2 separate regions of the Homo sapiens genome follow, and region 2 is linked to region 1. Evidence: promoter capture Hi-C in human tissues and cell types (Jung and others, 2019). All regions are on one chromosome and are shown on one strand. Each heading gives the region's core, a stretch centred on a gene start or on the middle of the fragment in contact. The rest is flanking DNA. Distances are from core to core; before and after follow the strand shown.

The links. The method cuts DNA at HindIII sites, captures the fragments that hold promoters and counts their contacts. A contact is called where the count stands out against the background at its distance.
Region 2: a fragment that was not itself captured here is called in contact with the fragment with the promoter of ICOSLG in region 1 in 2 of the 25 tissues and cell types used here (dorsolateral prefrontal cortex and spleen).

What each region holds. Positions count from the first base shown.
Region 1 is chr21:44,238,318-44,243,943 of GRCh38, forward strand. ICOSLG (inducible T cell costimulator ligand) reads right to left here and starts at 2,626. Exons shown (of 7, transcript NM_015259.6): 1 at 2,487-2,626; 2 at 131-171. The coding sequence starts at 2,500. RefSeq lists enhancers at 1,103-1,881, 4,386-4,924 and cis regulatory regions at 2,437-3,436, 2,437-3,361, 2,437-3,352. The HindIII fragment of the contact is 7,916 bases long and covers 810-5,626 here.
Region 2 is chr21:44,184,715-44,190,340 of GRCh38, forward strand. LOC105377139 (a long non-coding RNA gene) reads right to left here. Exons shown (of 4, transcript XR_001755082.3): 2 at 3,744-3,905. Among named protein-coding and RNA genes, the nearest start is that of LINC01678, 28 kb to the left of the region's middle. The HindIII fragment of the contact is 7,407 bases long and covers 1-5,626 here.

The sequences.
Region 1 (5,626 bases), core at 1,376-3,875:
AAAGGACCACTTGAGAAGCAAGAAGGAGCCTGGTGAGGCTGCTCCCAGTGCCCTGCGGCCAGCAGTCCACACAGCCGGAGAGCCCATCTCTGAGCTGGGCGCCCCATGGCAAAGCACCCCCTGAACTTACCAGCTCGAAGGCTGCTGAAGAGCAGGAAGAGCAGTCCAGGACTGGAAAAAACAACCAGAAAGGCAGGTGAGGCGGGGCCACCAGGGAGTTACCTGTATCTTCCAAACAGGAACAGGCTGGTTCCCATGAGCAGGAGGTAGTTAAGCCCATCACAGAAATGTGAAGGCAGAGCCAGGAGCCTGCCTGCCTCTGTTCTCCATGGGAATTCGGGGTCCGGGGCCAGGACCACCACCCTCCTGCCCAGCACAGCAAGTCCGAGGGGCTGGCAGCCTCTCACCACTCTCTAGCTCTCGCGGTAACAAATCCCCAGAAACACAGTGATGCTGGCGTGAGGATGAAGGGGAGCGAGGGACGCCAGTGAGGCTGGTCTAGCCTTCCTGGGGACAGATGCCAAGAAGTTGTAGGAAATCAGAAAAAAAAAAAAAAAAAAAAGCTTTCAGGGCACATATAGTAGGAGTGTCACTTAAAATGCTGGGGAGACGGAGAACATCAGGCGTGCCCGTGACAGGGTCAGGTGAGTGACGGGACAGCCCTGTGCGGAACGCGGATCATTTTGAAACCAAACCTGAGCTCCTCCTGTTTCAGATCCTGCTGCAGCTGGTGCCCCTGCCTCGGGCAGCAAATTCCCCTCGTGACTCCAATGCCCCTGCCATCTTGGGTCTGGGAGCCTTTGCACCCTGCACGCCACAGGCTCGCCACCTCCTCCCGCCAGCCCCCAGGATGCCTTCCCCACGTGGGGGCCCTTAGTGGCCGGGACCACTTTGGTAGCAGTGCTTACCCCAGCCCCCCAAACCATCAGTTTCTGGGGCCAGCTCCCCATGAAGCAAGAGCCCCAGGAGCAGGGACATCTCCTTCTCTGATGTCCCTGCACCTCCAAGGTCTGGGAGACGCTCATCCCTCTTCTCTGTGGCCTCTGCCTGGGAAAGCTTGGGGGCTTTGTAAGTCAAAGGTTGGTCTTGTGGGAACCTCCCAGTGGGCTGTCCCTGAGCCCTGGAGCCACAGAAACCCCTGCCCCACCCACGATGGCTGTCATCTGAGTCTGCATGGAGGTGTGTCTGTGCCAAGTGAGCACACATGCACCAAGGCGGCCCCTGGCCACCAGGGGCTCTTGAAGTCTGCAGGCGGCCCTTCCTCTCTCTCCCACTCCCCCTGTTGGGGCCACCATTCTGGCTGGCAAGATGGCTGTGATGGCCTCCAGCAGGCCCCCTGCCTCCACCCTTAGCCCCTTCAAGCATTTCCCCAGAGCCACCATCTAAACGACAGCTGTGAGAACTCCTCTGTGCCCCCATTTGTCTCCCACAGTGCCCATATTCATCACCAGCCCACAAGGCCCCTCCTGTCTATGGAGGCCTCCTCAGGACATCTGGGGGCTTCCTGGGCCAGGGTGGGGGGTGCCTGCTCCAGGCTGTTTCTGGCTTGTCCCCTCCCTGGGTGCTGCCTAAGCAGCGGCCTCTGTGTCCTTTCCTTGGACCCTCAGCACCCCTGCATCTAACCTACCCCCACCCCGAGCTTGCCTCAAGACCCAGCATGGACAGGGCCGCCTACCTGAAGGTGTGGGTGGCGGAGGGCTAAGACATTTGGGAGGGCTATGACATTCCGGGACCTTTAAATTCTTTCTCTCTAGGGCAGGATCATAACTGCATACACTTCTAATGGGGAGGGGACCTGGGGAGTGTGACTCCGGTGTGGCCCAGCTCTGAGCTGTGCGGGAGGCATCCCTGGGGTCAGGGGCCTCACAGGTTCACCCAGGGGAGCACAGGCTGCGGACCCTACAACGTGGGTTGCGAAGAGTATATTTTGGATATTTTCGCAAAAATCCAGGAGGAAGCTGTCACTCCTGGTTCAGGCAGCCCCGCCTTCCCCAGTGTGGATCGGCTGCCGGGCTGCGGGGAATCCCACGTGTGTGGGGGAGGGCGTGTCCGCAGACCGTGGGCACCAGCTGGCCTTGGAGAGCGCTCGGCCGGTCACCTCCCTCCTTCTCCCTTCTTCTAGGAAATCAGCAGTGCCAGGGAGTGGAAGGGGCAGCGCCCGTGCCCCGGCGTGCAGGGTGCGCCCGCCTTCCCTCCCTCCTTCCAGCGTTCGCGGTCCTCCTTCCCTGGCAGGGACCCCGCCCCCGAGCCCGCCCCCGCACGGCTGTGCGTCCTGCCATGGGTCCCGGTGCCAGGCCCCGCCGCCCACTGCCGTCCACGCCCCGCCGGCCGCCCCGGCGCCTCCGCCGCCCGCTCCTCGGACCCGCACTGCCAGCCCGGCACCTCCAGGCGAGCCCCGCAGGCCCCGCGTCCGAGCCGAGCTGGGGACGCGCGGGCCGAGCCACCCCGCCCCTGACCGCGGCGCCTCCGCTCCTTCCCCGGCTCACCTGCCCAGCCGCATGGTGCGGGCGGAGACCTCGGGCCGCGGAGACCTCGGGGCGCGGAGACCTCGGGGCGCGGAGAACTTGGGCCGCGGGAGACCTCGGAGAGGAGCAACCTCGGGGCGCGGGAGATCGGCTCTAACTGCGCTCCCGCCGCGCCCGAGGCTCTGAGCGCCCAGCGCGCGGTGTGCTGGAGGCAGCCGTGTCCCCGCCCCGTCCCCGCCCCGCCCCCGGCCTGGCTCCTCTGGCGACCGAGACCGCCCCGGGACAGGAGGCGGGGCGCTGCGCGGCGGCTCCGGAAAGTTCGGCTCTGCCCAGGCGTGTGCCCGTCGGCCGGAGGCGGGACAGAGGCAGGTCGGCCTGTCCGCCTGGACGCGGACCTGGGCGCCGTAGGTGCCCTGGGAAGCGCAGGGGTGGGGGGTACCCGGCAGGAAGGTGGCCAGGGGTGCTGCGGGTGCCGGCGCAGCGAGGGAGGGCACCGTGGGAGGCAAGGGCCGTTCCCCGCGCCGCGCACAATGCGCCGGTCCTGCGGCCCTCCCCGAGCAGGAGTCCGGGGACCCAGGCCCCAAGGCTGGGAGAGCGCCAGGCCCCTGGCCGGCTGCGCTCCGATGATCTCCAGGACTTAAGGCGAGTGAGCTCAGCGACTGCTGAGGAATGAATGACTGAATGAACGCATGCATGAATGGAAGGAGGGAGGGAAAGTGGGCGGGCTCTACCCTCTGGGCCAGCCCCAGCCCGCCCCCACCTAGCCTTGCTCCCCTAGCCTTCTAGGGGTGTGAAGGGCGCTGGCGCAGCCTCTTTGCTTAACACTGGCTCTGAGGATCCCCCGCCGAGAAACCGAGGCAGGCTTGCGGCTCTGGGCTCGTCAGCCTTGGCAGTGGCGTCTGGCCTGGAGTCTGGGGCAGCTGGTTTGGGAAAGGCTGCACCACGCAACCGAGGGTGGGACCCAGAGTCCCTGCTCCTTCCCCACCGCACCCAGCCCACCCCGCCCTCCCTCCCTGATCCCTGCAAGCCAGGTGAGGCCCAGGGGGGACGTGACTCCCTTTCTGCAGAGGCACCTCCGGAAGGGCCTGGGTGAGGCTGCTAGACAGGGCAGCGGGGCACCCTCCTCCCGGAGCCCCCGCCTCTGGGCTGAGGCTCGGATCCCCACCGCCTCCTGCGCATGGAGGAGGCGAGAAGCGCAGGGAGACGGGGGCCCCAGACGGCACCCCGCAGGCTGCCATTCCTTCAACCAAGATGTAGAGAACGCCGTGGACAAAAGCTTTAAAAAAATTCTGAAACCTCTGCCCGTGGGAAGTCAACATTTTTGCGGAGCAGAGAGCCCAGGCACAAAATAAGAAGGCGGAAGAGACGGGCTGGGGGGATAGGGGGGACGGCGGCGGGGAAGGGCAGGGAGGGCGGCGGCGAAGGCGCAGGAAGCCCTGAAGCCGGGCGGCTTCCCCCTCCCAGGCCACGCTGAGAGACGGGGGTTGGGGGGATTTAAAATCGCGCGCCTGGCAGGGGCGGGGCGGGGGCCACCTGCCCTCCGGCGGGAAGAGCTGGGCAGGGCCCGCGGAGTGCAGGGCGGAGGCACTGGCGGTCCGCACCCGGGTGAGGTGAGGCGCGTAACCGCATCTGAGCCGGACTCTTTAGGACGAGTCCCGTCCCTGGAGTCAGAAAACCCGGTCCAGCGCCAGCGTGGACGTGCGCTTCCCGGGACACGCCCAGGGACGCCGGCTAGGACCGGCGAGGCTGGAGGGGTGGCGATGTTGGGGGCTGAGGTTCCTCGCCCCGGGGCGGGCGGCTGCTGGTAAGGGACCGCATGGCCCCGCAGGTGAGGAGGGCGCAGGTGAGGAGGGCGCAGGTGAGCCGGGCGGGCTGCGGGCAGCGCCACCTCCTCCCGGAGGCCCTCCCTGATTGACCGGCCGGGAACCGCGCGCCTCTGGGCCTGCGGCTGAGGTCCGGGGCTGCGCCGCGCCGATGAGCTGACGCCGGGCCGAGCGCTCCACCCCCAGGGCCGGGCGCACCTGAATCCCCTCCACCCGCGGGACTGCGGAGAGGGGGACGGCCCCCGGATACCGCGTGGGGGCTTTGGGAGGATGGGGAATGGGTCCTGGGGGAGCAGAGCCTCCCAAATTAAGGCCTCCCAAGAGCGCGGCCGGTCATCCGCGGCGGCGAAGGGAAGGTGCCCTGTCGGTGCGTCCGGACCCCGCAGCCCCCCAGTGCCGCCCGGGGGCGGTGGGAGAGGGGCCGACACCGCAGGGCCCGCCGTGCTGTGGCCGAGGGGGCAGGTCCAGGCTCTGCTTCCCGGGCAGACGCCGGAGACCCCAGCAAGCCAAGTGCTGCGGGCAGCCCCCCCCCCGCCCCCCCGAGAGAGGGGACGCCGCGTGGAGGCCACAGCCAGGCAGGGGCAGGAAGGCAGCTGGGCCAGAAGGGGACACTGAGGCAGGCCGAGGCGGCCGCGGGGGAGGGTGCCAGGACCAGCCCAGGAACCTCGGAGACCACGGTAAGCGGTGGCTGGTTCAGATCCCAACTCCGGAGCTGTGTGACCCCAGAAAGTTCCTTAGCCCCTTGGTGCCTGCATCCCCTGACGTGTGACATATACATGAATGGGGCTGTTGTAAGTGAACGCACACAGCACACCGGCACATGTGTCACAACACTTAGATGGGTTTAGATGAAGAAACAGGGAAACCTTTGGGAAGTTTCCTGTAGTCAAAGGAAGGTTTTCGTTTTCCCCCTCAACCGTGACTGTTTCTTGGGCCGGCAGGATAGGCTTTTGTTCTAGGGGTGTGGAGAGAGGGCCCCTTGGCAGCGTCCAGGGCCAACTGGGAACCAAGCAGGAATCGTATTTGTGCAGCCTGGAGTTCGAGGCTCTGGGTGCGAGTCGTAGTGCTTAAGCAGGAAGCAGCTGCCTGATGCCCCTAGCCCCAGGCCGCCCTGCTCTGCCGTTTCGAGGGCGTGGGGGTCTTCTGATCTCCACCTTGATGCACCTCCAGGCCCGGGTCCTTTTGGGGTCTGGCACAGCAACCTGCGTTTGACAGCATGGGCGTCCGCTGATGCTGAGAGCTCAACTTCTGGTCCAAGGAAGATCTTTTCTCTTCGGGGAACAGTCATACATTGTTTAACGAAAAGGATACATTCCTTCTGAGAAATGCGTCCTTAGG
Region 2 (5,626 bases), core at 1,921-4,420, 53 kb before region 1:
ACCAGCTCCTGTTCCATTCCCATCTATTTCATCTGACATCTCAGCACCCAGTGCCTACACTTAATGATTTCCTGAATTTTTCCAGTGAAACTAGCGCCTAAATGTATTCTTTCTTCCTTCAGAAAGTGTTTTTAATCCGCAGGTTGAGTACTGTGTTTTCCTGATTTGATAAAACAGAATATTTTTATAGCTCTGCCAGTTTTCCTTTTCTTCCTCATGAATAATCAGTGTGATTCAGCTGGGACTTTCCCTGTTGAACAGGGAGAGTGGGTTTTTCCAGCCTCTCCTCCTTTTCACTCCGCTGTGGTTGAACTCCTACTTACTCTTTCGGCAGATGGTGTTTGCCAAGTTAGTTTTGCAGCTGCCTGGGGGTACTGGGGTGGAAGCAGCCCCGGGAAACCCCATGGGGGACTTTGTGTCTTTTACTCCATCACAGCGAAGCCACGGGGCTGGGCCAGGCCCTGCCCTTTGGGAACGGGCTCCTCCGGTGCTGGCCTTGGCCTTGGCCCCACTTCATCCTGGCCCCTGCCCAGGCTTCCAGCCCCTGCCCACAGCTGCCCCCTCCAGGGGCTGCCACTGTCCAGGTCAGGGAAGGCTCTTCCTACCTGGGGAGAGGACGCCCTGGCCAGGAACTGTCCCTCAGCTTTCTGTGGTCTCTGTGTCCCCCGTGCCCTCCGGGTGCCCTGCTGGGGCCCTGCCTCCCCTTGTCGCTCAGCCTTCATGGTAGGGGCTGCGGGTCCCAGCGCCCCTCCTCCTCCTGGTCACTCACCTCCCACTGAAGCAGCCCCGTCCGCACCAGTGTCTGGGAAACCCCAGTGAGGCCCCTCCCTGCCAGACCCCAGGTGTGGGGGCTTCTGCTCCACCTGCTGCATCTGCCACGGGGCCCTTTGGAGAAAGTGTTTTACCCAAAGAGGCGAGTCCTGGTGATGCTGGAGCCTGGCCCTCATTGCTGTCAGCCCCCAGCACCTGGTACAAAGGCCACTCATCCCAGTCTCTGAGCCCTGAAGACAGCGGAGGGCAGCCTGAGACACAGGACCCTCTCCCACCAGCTCCAGGGGCCAATGCCAGCCTGGCCAGCGGCCGGGACCAGCACAGAGGCTGTGGATGGGGAGGGTGGTGCTGGAGGCAGGGGGCATGCTGGCGGTCTTTTGGGGGTGGTGGACAGCCCCACACCCTGCTTGCAATGGTGCGTCAGGCAGTGGCCCCTGGTGCCGGCTGCTTCCCCAGCAGTGACCTTGGCTTCTCTTCTGCAAGCCCCTGCCTGCCCCGAGATGCCAAGCCCCAGGATCCACCAGAACTGCCCTCGCTGCCTATGGCCCCGAGCGCCCACCCTCGGGGCTGGACCTTTGCAGGAGGACAAGCCATGCCGGCCTCAACTAGCGGAGACCTCTGTGGCCACCTACGGGTCCTCTGCACTGTGCGTGGGGCAGTGGGGACGGAGCTTCCTGCCCCCCGGGGCCTGCTCTGCTCCTGCTCCTTGGACCTGGAGGAGCCATATCCACACAGACATGCACGACAAATGCGGCTGCAGACACGCGTGATGAATGCAGCATGACAAGCCAGACCCAGGATGGTGCCTCTCCCCGGACAGGAGCACTGGCCCGAGCCTGGCCCTGGGTGAGCTGCACAGCCGTTCCCTGCCTCGATTTCCCATCTGAAATCAGAGCACTCCCTCCACAGGCTGGCGCGAGGACTAAGATCGGGGTAGACCCGTGACCCTAGGGGAGGGTCCCCACAGGCATGAGCTCCTTGGCTTTGTTTCACGACGATCGTGAACACCAAGCAGGCGTAAAGCATCCCGCAGCGTTTAGGCCCTACCAGAGCATAGCCTTGGCTGATGTGGTCCTCACCCACCGTGCCTGGCATGACATCTGCCGGCCTATGCTGAGAGGCCGAGAAAGGATGAGGGGTGGGGAGGGTATTCTCTGCATCTGCCCTCCTGTCCACGGGACACCGGGCCCTGACCTCTGACAGAGGTGAGCATGGGTCCCAGGTGGGCCCATCCGAAGCCTGCCTCAGGAGTGTGAATCTGTGGCTAGGGCCACTTTCCCAGGACACCTGGACATCAGCTGGCTGAGGTCCCCACCCCTGGAGGCTGGATCAGAGGGGGCCAGAGGGGAAGGAGGCAGTGTCCAGCCCCTGAGAGGAGCAGGGAGGAGGGATGAGGCCAGAGTCCGAGGCTGGCGGGCCACCCGGGGGCCACTGCTCCAGGCCTGGTTTGGGATCACAGATCACCCTGCTGACACGCTCCCTGTCAGCATCTGCACGGAGGAGTTTGCTGGCTGTGGCCTGCAGCCCACACATCCCAACCACAGACACGCTCTTTCCCCACCTTTTGGTCCCTCTAACAACTCAATGCCCAGAACTTTCTATTGCCCAGGACTCTCAGGGTCCCTTCGGAGGCCGGACAGACCCTCCCCTCCCCAGGCCTTCGTGCAGCCCCTGCTGCATGCCAGGCCCACCTTGGTGAGGCTGTGTCGGGCTGAGCTCCTGGTCATTCTGCAGCTGGCTGGGCCCAGCTCCCTTTCCAGTTGCCCTCAGGCCACCCAGGAGCAGCTGCGTAAGGATTGCTAAGCCTGAGTTATCTGCATCTTTCTTCTTTCACTAATTTCTTTCTTTTTTTTTTTTTTTTGAGACAGAGTCTCACTCTGTCACCCAGGCTGGAGTGAAGTGGCGTGATCTCGGCTCACTGCAACCTCTGCCTCCCGGGTTCAAGTGATTCTCCTGCCTCAGCCTCCCAAGTACCTGGGATTACAGGCACCCGTCAACACACCTGGCTAATTTTTGTATTTTTAGTAGAGACGGGGTTTCACTATGTTGGCCAGGCTGGTCTCAAACTCCTGACCTCAGGTGATCCACCCGCCTCGGCCTCCCAAAGTGCTGGGATTACAGGTGCGAGCCACTGCTCCTTGTCCACTAATTTCTTTTTCATGCTGATAGATGTCCTGTTCCTGAACCATCTTTGCATTTCTAAAATAAACCACCTGCTTGGGGGTGGTGTGTGATGATTTTGACACATTGGTAGTATATTTTTGCTAATATTTTATCCAAACTGTTTGCATCTATAGGTACAAGCAACATAGCTTTATCATTTTATATGCTCCCCCCCACCACCTTTTTTTGTTTTGAAATGGAGTTTCGCTCCTTTTGCCCAGTCTGGAGTGAAGTGGTGCAATCTTGGCTAACCGCAACCTCTGCCTCCCAGGTTCAAGTAATTCTCCTGCCTCAGCCTCCTGAGTAGCTGGGATTACAGGCACATGCCACCACACCTGGCTAATTTTGTATTTTTAGTAGTGACAGGGTTTCTCCATGTTGGTCAGGCTGGTCTCAAACTCCTGACCTCAGCTGATCCACCCGCCTCGGCCTCCCAAAGTGCTGGGATTACAGGCTTGAGCCACCGCACCTGGCCCTATATGCTCCCTTGACAAAAGCTATGCCTTCATAAATAGGAGGTTTCCCATCTTTTTCTGTGGCCTAGAAAAGTTAGAATTATCTTTTTAAAGGTTAAATAAAATTCAACTGGTCTGCACTTTCCTTAAAGATAAATATCCATCACCTTTCTAATTTCTCCTGTGGAAGGCGGACTATTCGAATATTCCAGTTCTTCTAGGATTGAGTTTGGTGATTTCTATTCTGCTGGAAAAGCAGCCCTCTCTGTTTTCATGGGGATGGACTTGACTGTCTTCATCAGTCCCAAAAGTCCCAGGGTGGACACTGCTGCCCAGCCTGGGTGAGATGCTCACCTTCAGCCACGTCTCGGGACAGGAGCTGGGGCAGGCACCAGCCTGGGTCCAAGGTCTCCCGGGACCAGCCTAGGTGGCCACGTGGCCGCCCTGCAGGAAGGATGGCTCTCCCTTGTGGTGCTGGGGAGGTGACTTCCATGACAGCGACTGTCACGGACACTTCTGGGAGAGATGAGAAGGGAACAGATGATTTTGGAGCCGTTCAGGTTTCACACACGGTTTTAGTCCCAACATTGCAGTCCTCATCGGCAAACGTGATCCCTCCCCCACCGCGTTGGAACATTCTGTACCAGGTTGTATCTTATTGTTTGAAAACAAGTTCTGCTAGTTAATTGGTTCGGGAGCAGCACGGGTAAGTAACCTCCCCATCTTCCCAACTTGGAATGTCTGCCTCTTTGTAGATGTATCATTGTTGATAGGCTTTTTATTAAAGTTAAATTCCCTTTATGTTTTTAACGTTTGATTATAATTTAATGTCTTCATTTTTCTTTTTAAGCATTTCAAATACCTGACAGGAAACATTTGCAAAACAGACAGCCAGACTTGTCAAACACTTAAATTACTCTTATCCTTTTAATAAATCAAGCTCATAGCAAACCAAATGCACTTAAACATTCTAATAGCTTCACAAACTTAGTTACTGAACATCTCCCAGCTTAAAGTTATAACTCTAATAGAAATAATACATTATCCCTAAACTGTACTTTAAAAATGACTATGCACTTTGGGAAGCTGAGGCAGTGGGTCACTTGAGACCAGCCTGGGCAACGTGGTGAAACCCCGTCTCTACTGAAAATACAAAAAGTAGCCGGGTGCCTGTAGTCTCAGCTAGTTGGGAAGCTGAGGTGAGAGAATCACTTGAGCCCAAGAAGTTGAGGCTGTAGTGAGTAGTGATCACACCACTGCACTCCAGTCTGGGCAATGGGAATGAGACCCTGTCTCAAAATAGTAATAATAATAATAATAATAATAATAAATAATGACTGATACAAAGAGTTGGCTCACTGAATTATTTCTAGTAAATTTTTGTTTGTTTCTATATAGTATGGTTTATTGCTGACTTTGACATATCTGTAAAGAATTTAACATTTTGGCCAGGCACGGTGGCTCACGCCTGTAATCCCAGCACTTTGGAAGGCCAAGGCAGGTGGATCATCTAAGGTCAGGAGTTCAAGACCAGCCTGGCCAACATGGTAAAACCCCATCTCTACTAAAAATACAAAAATTAGCCAGGCATGTTGGCAGGTGCCTGTAATCCCAGCTACTCGGGAGGCTGAGGCAGAAGAACCACTTGAACCTGGGAGGCGGAGGTTGCAGTGAGCCGAGATTGTGCCATTGCACTCCAGCCTGGGTGACAAAATGAGACCTTGTCTCTGCCAATTAAAAAAAATCATATTCTGGGCCGGGCGTGGTGGTTCATGCCTGTAATCACAGCATTTTGGGAGGCCAAAGCAGGAGAATTGCTTGAGTTCAGGAGTTCAAGACCAGCCTGGGCAACATAGCAAGATCTGGTCTCTATATTTAAAAAATAATAATAATCATGGCTGGGCACGGTGGTTCACACCTGTAATCCCAGCACTTTGGGAGGCTGAGGCAGGTGGATCACTTGAGGCCAGAAGTTTGAGACCAGCCTGGCCAACATGGCAAAACCCTGTCTCTACTACTGAAAATTAGCCGGGAATGGTGGCACACGCCTATAATCTCAGCTGCTTGGGAGGTTGAGGCACGAGAATCACTTGAACCCGGGAGGCAGAGGTTAAAGTGAGCCAAGATTGTGCCACTGCCCTCCAGCCTGGGTGACAGAGCGAGACTCTATCTCAAAAAAAAGTAAAAATAAAATAATCATATTCTGCATATTCATCCCATATCAGATACACAATTTG